Regions from separate parts of the Homo sapiens genome. Here region 1 is linked to region 2. The links are contacts of gene promoters, found by promoter capture Hi-C in human tissues and cell types (Jung and others, 2019). All regions are on one chromosome and are shown on one strand. Each heading gives the region's core, a stretch centred on a gene start or on the middle of the fragment in contact. The rest is flanking DNA. Distances are from core to core; before and after follow the strand shown.

The links. Contacts are between HindIII fragments. The study calls those that stand out against the background at their distance.
Region 1: a fragment that was not itself captured here is called in contact with the fragment with the promoter of RBMS3 in region 2 in 1 of the 25 tissues and cell types used here (mesenchymal stem cells).

What each region holds. Positions count from the first base shown.
Region 1 is chr3:29,603,904-29,609,257 of GRCh38, forward strand. The region is part of intron 4 of RBMS3 (RNA binding motif single stranded interacting protein 3); the gene reads left to right. Among named protein-coding and RNA genes, the nearest start is that of RBMS3-AS2, 36 kb to the right of the region's middle. The HindIII fragment of the contact is 6,866 bases long and covers 1-5,354 here.
Region 2 is chr3:29,277,286-29,282,935 of GRCh38, forward strand. RBMS3 (RNA binding motif single stranded interacting protein 3) reads left to right here and starts at 3,786. Exons shown (of 15, transcript NM_001003793.3): 1 at 3,786-4,471. The coding sequence starts at 4,397. RBMS3-AS3 (RBMS3 antisense RNA 3) reads right to left here and starts at 3,654. Exons shown (of 3, transcript NR_109804.1): 1 at 3,446-3,654. RefSeq lists an enhancer at 2,641-2,690. The HindIII fragment of the contact is 9,133 bases long and covers 842-5,650 here.

The DNA of each region.
Region 1 (5,354 bases), core at 1,762-4,261, 330 kb after region 2:
CAATTAGGGCACAAGTTGCTTTAGAGCCCTGGTTCTCAACTGCAACATCTATAAACATTTATGGTGGTCACAACTAGGGCACAAGTTGCTACTGGCATCTGTTCGGTGGGTAGAAGCCAGGATGCTGCTAATCATACTGCAATGCATTAAATAGTGTCTCATTTTTGCTACAATAAAGAATTATTCGGTCTAAAATATCAATAATGTCAAGGTTGAGAAACGCTATTTTGGAATAATAAAACCAGATCATTGTGGTTTTGCCATTGCATTTTAAAAAATCAATCTTAATTTTCTTGCTCTCCATAATTATTTTTTACATATTGTAACTAGCAATATAATTGTGAGTGTATAATATTTCATCTTATAAGTGACAAGAAACTATATGATTACTTATTGGAAACACCATTTTTAATATCTTTAATGACATGTCATACTAACATTTGTAGTTTATTGTACCTCCTTTCTTTTAAACTTCTATCATAGTCCAACCTTAAGCCTTTGTGACACTTCTATTTTTTAAGTTTAGTCCTTGGATGCTATTCCTTTTGGAGGCAGAATCCAGGCCTGGTGCCTCATCATCCTTCCTATAGAGTTCTGCACATGGTGGGCTCTCGGATTTTTATTGAATGTCTCAAAGCAAGTTAATTCTCCTTCAGAGGCTAGGCAACTAAATGTCGTGGGAAAGAAGAATCCAACTGACTAAAATAGATATCATGCTACAGTACCTGCAAATGAGCTCAGATATTAAATTTTTGATCACTAAAAATTCCTTCAATTAGAGTTGGAAACCATATATGATTATGCTTCTGGATAATTTGCAATGGATGTTCAATTTTTCTTTCAGGAAACAGCTCTGTTCCTTTAGTTTTTAATATCTATCACTCAGTAGATCTTAGCAGTTAGTGATCATTAGTTTTCCTCCAGGGATAGACTACTAGAAGAGTGGAAATTTGGTTGGCATTTGTCTACCAGCATATCTTTTTAATGGGGTTAGAGCATGATAGCAATTAAACCTTAGGTGCTTTGAGATATCTTTTGGCATATTGGATATGTTGACATCCTCCTCCAAAATAAAGCAAAAATAAATCTTATAATGACTTTCTTTTCTTTATTCATACACTACAACTTTCTCATAGCTTGTTTTGTAACTTGCATTGAATATTATGGTTCCATTCCTTCTTTGTATATTTCAAGCATAATATTTATATTCTCCTTATATTTTTGTAAATTGTTTATCCTCCTTTGCTTTTCCTCCTTTGAAATACAATCTGAAAACAAGTTATGGATTAAAGGAAGCCACTGTGCAGACTAAAAATTCTTAAACTGAAGAAAAAATGAAACATTTTACGATTGTTTAGGTATTATAGGCATTGACTGGCTAGTAAAAAGGTCAATGCACCAGCAGAAGGTTGTATACGCTGTTAACAAAGGCAATTCCTCATGAAATGTTGTACATTTCAATATATAGAATCATATTGAATAATACTATGGAAATTCCTTTGAGTTTTCCAGAATTTTAAATGAAGTAAATTTATACGCTTTCTATGTTGCTCTTAATATCGATGATCCCAGATTATTGTGTAGATTAGGGAACCACCTACATACTTTCTGTACTTCATGGTAGATCCTGGTAGAAAAAGAAATGAGGTTGAGAGTGAATGCAGATAGCAAGGGTTATCCAAAAGAATATAGAAAAAGTAGAAATGGAAGATAATGTAATATTATTTCATAAGTTGATGAACTTGTGAGGATAAAAATGAATTTCAGTTATGCTTGACTTTGGCAGTTCAGATTCTACAAGGCGGGGAACAGTACAGCTTTGGGACCCTTTTTTAATATTCTCCCTAAGTTGACTTTAGTGGGTGGATTTAGTATACCATGTCAAGAATGCTAGTACTGATGATTTGTGTCCTTTTGTACTAATGTTGCTAACATGTTCATTGCACTTCCAAGAAGATCGTCACAACTATTTAGAACCTGGTCAGATATAGCAGTTTGACCTTAGTATGTGGTTTTCTTGCATTTTCCCCTCTTTCTGGCTTTGTTAAGACATGAAACAAGGTAGTTTTTTTTTTTTTTTCTAACTCCTTGGAAGTGTATATATATCTTATGAGTTATACCATCCTAGCTTTGGTGAAACTCACAGTTTACAGTTTGACCTTTCTTAGTAAGTAGGAGTTTTGCTGAATCATACTCCAGTACTGTGAGGTTGCAGATTGTCTATTCCTTAAGTCTTTAGGTTGCTTAATGATAAATTAAATAGGGGATGGCTGTCTTTTCTCACTCCTAGATTTTATTCACCACACACTCAGTGGTGTAATAACAATCCCTTCGCATTGTCATATGATTGATGTTTAAAGACCCTATTATTTGGAACCTGATTCCCATCAAGGTTTATGCAAATATTTATGGATCACTACTTGGCTTACAGGATGCTAGACATTCTGACATGGTCACTTGTATACCAAAAGATTTTACTGACAAACATTTCAAGTGTGTTTGACTTATTTTGAACATCAACATAAAATTTACTGGATCCCAGAGGATTTCAATAACAAATAGAATTTGGAATCAGAGCTGGAGTTGGACACATTTTGCTCATGTCATTAGAATCTTCCTCAGACTTCTCAGACTCTCTTTGTATAAAGCATCCATGAGAAGCTGTCATGTCTAATTTCTTATAATAAGTAGGGTCAATTTCATGAGCAGAACATATGACTGTATTTTATATATGCAATATAAAATCACAACCAGACATAAGTGGACATGGGAAAAAAAACAGCAACCAGATTAAACATTCACAGCTGTTTCTGAGTTTTTCTGTATTGTTCCTTTACTATTTGTTTATTCATTCTTTTATCTTCTAGTGCTCACTTGCAGACAAATGTTGCCCATGCCAATGTTTCAGAAAATACATGAGATAAAACATAGAAAAAATTCTATCCATCAATGTGCTATTTTTTTCTTTGAATTGAAAATTTTTCCATTGTATTAATTTAGAGTGAAATTTTTCTCATGTAAAGCATTCTATAATATGCAATACAAACAACAGGCAAACTATGCCAGATAAATTAATAAATAAAATAATCTGACAGAGAAAAAAGTACTGTTTGCTTCACAGTTTCACTAAACCTAAATATTCTATTAAAGTCAGTGTATGGAGTATGCTGGAAAATGGCAAACATTCTGTGTGGGTTTCAGAATTGCTGTATTGGGTACATTTTAAATATTTGGTTATCATGTCAAGTTATTACACATTTTAGATATTTATGATTATTGAGATTTCAATAATAAGCTATTAAATATTTTATTTAAAGTTCCATTCTATTTTTTGTTGCCTTAGTCCCATTGGGCTGTTATAGTAAAATGCCATAGACTAGGTAGCTTATAAACAACAGAAATTTATTTCTCAGAGTTTTGGAGGCTGGGAAGTCCAAGATCAAGGTGCTGACAGATTCAGTGTCTGTTGAGGGCCTGGTTCCTGTCTCAAATGGAGCCTTCCAGCTGTGTCCTCACACTGTGGAAGGGGCAAACAAGTTCTGTGCCTATTTTATAAGGATATTATTCCCATATATGAGGGTTCTGCCTTTATGATCTAATGATTCCCAAAAGGCCCCACCACCCAATATCATCATTTTTGGAGTTACTATTTCAAAATAAGCATTTTGGGGGGATGCAACATTCAGACCATAGCAGCTGTACAATTGGCAAAAGGATTGCCTGTTTTTAAATCTCTGAATTTGATTTTTTTTCCCAAATACCTTTACTAGAAAGAAAATTTAAACATTTTACATTTTTACTTTACATGGAGAAAATTCATGTCTTGCTCTGTTGTAAGTTTCATATTATTCTCTGTTTAAAGTTCCCAATCAGAACATATTACAACAAAATCTAACCAATTAATTAATTGTTTTCACTATCTTGATCATAAATTTTGTATATTCCTTTACAATATTAATTCTTTGCTGCTAGTCTTAAGAAAAAAATAAGCTTTGTGGAAAAAGATAGGTATATGCATATTTTGTGTATATTTTGCCTTTACTATAGAATTTATGAAACATACACAAAAGCAGAGAAAATAGTGTAATTTACATGGTACGAGAAATCTCAACATGCCCATCATCCAGCTTCAACATTTATTCTACTATGAATCTTATTTCATCCAACTATTTTACCACTTTCTCACTCTTCAAGAATACATTATATTATTTTATAATATTTATAGATAAAATAATATGTCTGTCTATATCCCAGACATCATATTATTTCACCTATATATATTTTACCATTTGCCTCTACCAGCCAAGAATTGGTATGTATTCATCATCCAGATTGAGGTATTTTTTTAAAGCAGCATTAACTTTTGTGGAAGTATCGTAATAAGACGGAATATTCTGAGTTAAAATCAAACAAATCTTTCCAATTAAATAATTGAGAATTAGCTAGAAAAATGACTTAAAACTTAGTGTAATAAAGCTAGTAGAATATTAAAGATAAGGCATAACACATTTCTTCTTACATTCTTAGTTTCATTGTGATATAAGGATTAGTTATATGCTGCTTAAAGTCAAGATTATACAATTACACAGAAAATGTTCCAAGCTAATCCCTTGGGGTTGATTTTGGCTGATAGTCTATTATTTAGATGACCAAAGATGACAGAATATACTTCTTAATTTACATGAATTACTCATCTAAGTTTTATACATAGTTTAACACATGCTGCATGCATGTATTAAACTGCATGAACGAGCTGAGATGAGAGAAGAATATAGTCAAGGTAAAAATGAGGAGCTAGATACATTCACCAAAACTGCTTAGGGAAAGTATAGCTTAATTTACCCTTTAACTAGAATAGCTGAGAGGGCAAGAGATCCAAATAGTCCCTGAGTGAATGCAGAAACTGAATGTGCTTAATGGCATATTTTTGTGTGTAAATACGTCTCTCTTCTGTGCTCCTTGTTTGCATTAGGGAGAATAGTAGGGGGAGGCAGAAGTCTTCTCTTATGTTAATAGAAAGTGTGGTTTATGTATTCCTTATAAATTTCATTCATATTCTTTATGGGCAGCATTCACTGCAGAATGTTGGATGAGTGGAGTGCTTACTTCTCACTATCTGAATGTTGTAGAACTAGTTATTTTTATTTCCAAACTGTTGTGGACTGATGCTTTTATAAAATATAATAAAAATAAATTACCAGAAAAATAAAATAAAGGAAAACAAAGATATAGACATAAAACTCATCTATCAAATGAATATAAAAGTTTCTAAATGCTTACTCTGCATTTCTGTCCCTGTTTCTTCTGAGACAGGTTAACGAACACTTTAAGTGAAGATGACACTTAATGTAGTA
Region 2 (5,650 bases), core at 2,536-5,035:
GAAATACTTGAACCCGGGAGACGGAGGTTGCAGTGAGCTGACGTCACACCACTGCCCTTCAGCCTTGGCAACAGAGCAAGACTCCATCTCAAAAAAATAAAAAATAAAACTCAATCGATCAATCAATCAGTCAGTGCCTCTTCTGTCTAGCCTGTGAATCACGTGACCCAGTGAGAGTCTATGCCCTTTGATGCAGTTTGCTGTTCTTGGATTTGTATGAAATTTGTTGGTTAGTTGGCAAATAGGACACAGCTGTCTTCTGATTTAGAGAGTGCCTTAAACCAGTTACCTCCTACCTTAACTTGATCATTTAAATGGAAAGCGCTACTGCTCCAACAGAGCAGAAATGATATAAAAACTATTTCTGATGTGAGTATCTTGCCTCCTGAATTGCCATGGCTACTGGTGTCTCTGAGGGAAGAAAATAAAAAACAAAAACACAGGTTTTACAATTCCCACAGGTGGTAAACCTACTTTGCATTACTTAAGAAAAGCTTTGAAGGTGCAATGAGGGTTTTTAAGCTAATGACAATTTATGCCTAAAACATTACAATAATCCAACGAAATCAAATAGCATTTTAAAAAGTAACAATTTTATGTAGAAATTGCTGATAGCATCAACACATGCTGGGAACTTTACAGATAATGGGTTATATCAGTTTTGGCTGAGGAGTCATTTGGCCTTTCATTTGTAAATAAGACAGTATTCTTTTCCCTTTAAGGAGTATCTAGACCATGTATTAATGAAAGAGTATTTATATCCTTTGTCCATGGTGGCAGAATTAGCCAAAGCAATCTTGGATTTTGTTCTTACAAGATAGAACTTGGAGGAGCATTAATAGGTTGTTTAAATGACAGCATTCTATAGTTGAAGATGACTAGATGTAGAATCTGAATATTTGGATAAAGTCCTTGCTGTACTGTTAACTATCAATTAATTAGCTTTCCATATCAGTTCTTTACTAAGGTTTATATGATCTGGCCCAAGGGTACCTCCCTAACCCCATTTTATGGTCTTTCCTCACTTGCTTCATTTCAGCCTCTGTGCCGGATCTTGCACATTCCAAAGACACAGTCCCACTGCAGGCCGTTCTGTACTTACTGTTCCCTGTGACTGGGATGTTTTTCCCCCATGTGCAGGCTGGCATTTGTTAAGCAGATCCAACATGGTACAAGGTGTTTTAAAAGCTTCATGTGTTTATCTGGGTTGGTTTTCTAAATAACTGTATGAAGTGAATAGTGATATTTGATGGATGAAGAAACTGAGGGAGATGAATGAAGAAGGGGCAGGATTGGAACCCAGGCAGTCTGGATGGGATCCAAGGCATTAACACGAAGTATTCTCACAGTGCACAATACCCAGAGAATGGTTCACACCCTTGCTTTGACCTTAGGAAAGCATTTTCCAAGGCTCTTCCTTGGAGAGCATTTTCCTATCTTGTTTAAAGTAGAATCTCTGTGACTTTGTTTCTCTTTACTCTGTTTCATATTTCCTTACAGCGCTTTGTATTTCCTGACATTATACTGCATATTTACTTCTTTATCCCTTTGTTTGTCCCCCCTTCCCCACTAAATATAAACTCGATGAAAGAAGGACCTTGTTCTGATTCATGTGCCTCTATATCCTGCACCCAGGTCAATTCTTGACCTGTAACAGGGACTGAAATGTACTGAAAGAGGGATGTAAGTCAGGTTGAAAAATTATTAATTATGTCTAACATTTTATTCTTCAGACATTTACTGAACACCCATTTTGTGCTCAACTCTATGCAAGTTTTTGGAAATATAAAGGCAAGTGAGAACAATGTGACCTCCTGCCCCCCTAGAGTTTAGAACATCATGGAAGAAACAAACAATAAGCAGGCAAATACATGTAGAATAAGCCTTCTATGAGGGCAAATATAAAGTGCAGCAGAGAAGGAAGGGTTTAGAGAAAGCTACTGTGAGGAGGTGATATCCATACTGAGACCTGAAGGACAGGCTGAAGGGTAAAAGAGGTGGAGATGGACTTGGGAGAGCACTCCAGGAAGAGGGAATGACAGAAGCCTCTGAGAGCATGTTCCTGTCCTGAAAGTAGCTCAGAGTGACTCCGGTATAGGATGTGAGGGGCAGAGTTGAAAGTCCGAGACTAGAGTAGAAAGCCAGGGCCAGACAGCTCGTCAAGTGTCCTGAAACCTATTCCAAAGAGTCAGGACTTTATTGTTTGAGAAACGTGACACCACTGGAGGATTTTTAAATCAGTGTCATTTTTAGTGTCTGATTCAGTGTACTGCCTTCAGCCAGGAGAGTTGGCAGTATTTCTATTTTATAGATGGGACAACTGAGGCCCCAAATAATACATTTAAGAGATAGGTGGGGTTGATTTAATATTCTCAATCACCATGTTGTCAGGGCCTCCTAACTCTTACCCTCTCACCCTCCATCCTTCCTTCCTTCTGATTGTTATTCTTGTCAAAAGTAAAACATAAAACTATTTACCTGCCATCCTTATTTTTATCCAAGGAACACGTATGCACTCACACAGCTTCCAGAAACCAGTTCCCCTCGGTGGAAGCCAGTTGCTTTAGGGGTGGTGCGGCTTGTATGTGGATGGACACCATGTGTGCACTGAGCCCAAATTCTCTGTTCTTCTTGACTAGGAAGCTGGATTTGTACCAGGGACCTTTTATCTAAATAGGAGACTCTGGGCTCAGGAGAACAGAGCCGACTTGACAAAGTAGAAAAGAGCTCAGTATTGGTCTGCCCACGCTTTGGGCATGCGTGAGCACTCGCAGCAAAACACAGCTGGCACATCTAATTTTAGCCTCGCCCGCCTTGAAAAGGGACCCTTTAAGGAAATATATTTTATCTGAAACAATTTGTATTATAATGTAGCAGCTGATAGACATGACAGAATATTATCATTGGTGGGAAAAAACTCTGCCAAGCAATTATGATTTTTGTTCTTTTTTTTTTAGATGATATCAGTAAAGTGATTAAAGCATCAATGCAACAAAATAATCATAAAGAGAGAGACAATGGGAGAAACAGATTTTATCTGTAAAATATCTGACGAACCTAAGGGGTCACTTCCTTTGATTTTTTTTTTTTTTTTTTTTACAAAATGGATGTATTTTAAAAAAGTTATTATTTTTGATATGTTCAGTTGATCAGTCCAATCTGATGACATGTGGCATTAATAGTAGTCCTGGAGTAGACCCTAAAATTTCTTCAATACTTAACATCCACCAAGTTTTCCAGGTAGTAAAAGGTTAGTTTCTCAATCAGCTCTTGGATGCGTCTGGCTCTAGCGTGTTAACAGATTTTGAAAGCATCCGGGACTTACTTTTTTCCCCTTTAACCAGCAAGGTTAGTTCCCCTGCCTTTATTTCTTTTCCTTTCTCCTCCTTCCTTCTTTCGTCCTCTCTTCCCTCTCTTCTGTGTTTTGTTTAGCAGTGTGGCTTACCTTGGAACTTGGCAAAAAGAGGAACAAAAAGCAGCTCTTGTGTGGGGTAGATGGAGGAGGGATAAGAAATAATCCACCGCCCGCATTTGAGTTCTTCAGGTTCAGTTCCAGCGGCAGCAGCGTTGCTGCAAAAATCGCTTGCTATTCGAGATAGCCAGCAGAGGGAATCGGAACTTTGCTTGCAGCAGGGGTTGAAGCAGCCTTTTTTTTTTTTTTTCTTGGAGGAAATACTGCAGCCTTCTGGACTGCGTACGCTGCTCCCTGGAGAGGCTCTCTCGGTTCCACCCACCGGCTGGAAGGAGGGGAAGTGAATGAAAGGACAGGACAAGCCCCGAACACCATGTCACTCTGGGAGGGAGACAGCAGCAACTAAGCTGTACAAGGTTTTTTTTTTTTTTTTTTCTTCCTTTTTTTCTTTTTTTTTTTCTTTTTCCCCTTTCTTTTTCTTTCTTTCTTTCTTTTTCTTTCTTTCTTTCTCTTTCTCTCTCTCTTTTTTCTTTTTCTTTAAGGTGGGGAAAGAGACAACCAAGAGACAGGAAGCTGATCTGCAAGGATTCGGAGTTGTGCTAAAAGGACTTTGATTTTTTTCCCCCTTTACGAACGCTGGCAATTGACATCACTACAGACAGCCTGGTTAGAGAACAAACTGCCTCATCCCAAGTGGACCCCGGCAGCTGGGGGAAGCCAGGCAAGATCTGGGAAGGCTGTGTGTGGGTGTTTTTTCTACAGATCTCACTCCTCGCCCTTTTTTTTTTTCCTTTGGTGTGTGTTTTTTGTTTTGTTTTGTTTTTTAAAAAAATTCTTGCTGTGTTGGAACTAGCGAGTGGTGGAGTCTCTGAAGCCTCATCAGTCACCGGGACTGTCAGGAATAGTGGTTTAAGAGGAAGCTCGGCCTGGGGCACTATACCCTGTCATCCAGTTCCCTGCCTCGGAGATAAAGATTCCAGCTACATGGGCAAACGCCTGGATCAGCCACAAATGTACCCCCAGTACACTTACTACTATCCTCATTATCTCCAAACCAAGGTATGGCTTGACCCACGGTCTGGCGATCAGCGTGGTATCGTTCTGCACTTGGGATGGGAAACAGACAGGCGTGTGAATTATTAGTTAACCCCCACCCCCATCACTTCTTCCTGCTTCTTTGAAATTAGTGACATACCAATGGAGTTAATGAGGCAGAGGAAGACATAAGAAGAAAGCAGCAAACCCGGAATTGTAGCTTTCTCTTTAAGGAGAGATAATAGTTTCACTTGAGTTCAGTTTCTTTGTTGTTATTTGGCAGCATAAATGGTCCTGATATCAGGAACGTCTTTTGCAGATGGGCACGGTTTTTAGAAAGCAGATCACAACAGTGATTACCAGGCACAAGAATATAATTTCAGGGGCTTTTCTGGTGAGCTGTTCTTTGATTGTGGCTCTAAAAGGGTTTTTCCCACTGGATAGGACGTGCAACGGTGGGGGTAACTCAAACTTTTAATCGCAGGGTATAGAATGAAAGAAGGGTGTGAGAAGGTATAGGGCTCCTACCAGAGTCTCTGAGAGTTTATTTTTATTTTTAATTTGCCTTGCCTATTTTATTTTATGTTGAGGATGATCAGCATGCTACAGACTGCTTTACAATAGATGTTCTTTACTTTTAGAAGATCTATTTTTCTGTGTAGCTGCCATGAGGAGGCCTGAGTCTTGAAAAGGAATGAAATGTAACTGATCATAATTGGACTTGAATTGGTTAAATACTTTAGGCTTTATGTGTGTGTGTCAAATGACCATTAGGGGCCCAGAGGCAAGCCCACGTAAGTAAGCAGTGGGCAGTACCTACCCTGAACTTTATCCTGCAGTTAAGACATGAAAGACTCTCAGGTGTGAAATCACTGCTCCGATTTGTCAATTAAATTGGACTTGATTAGGGGGAAAACATGTTAGCGGAGTGACCACCTCGAGTGTACGGGTGATATTATTTTGTATTGCATTAGCATTAGCCAGACTCCACCGTCTCCTTAATAAATAAATATGCCGAGAGTGAACAAGGCGTGCCTGAATGATCTATGCTGTCACCAGGACTCGGTGATGTGATTAGGGTTAGGTAATTCATGCTGTAGTTATCTGTCATTTATTTTGTCTCGTCCAGCAACGCCTATTTGTAAACCAGACTGGGAAGCAGACTTTCAGTATTATACAAAAGATTATTGCTTTGTTTTTTTC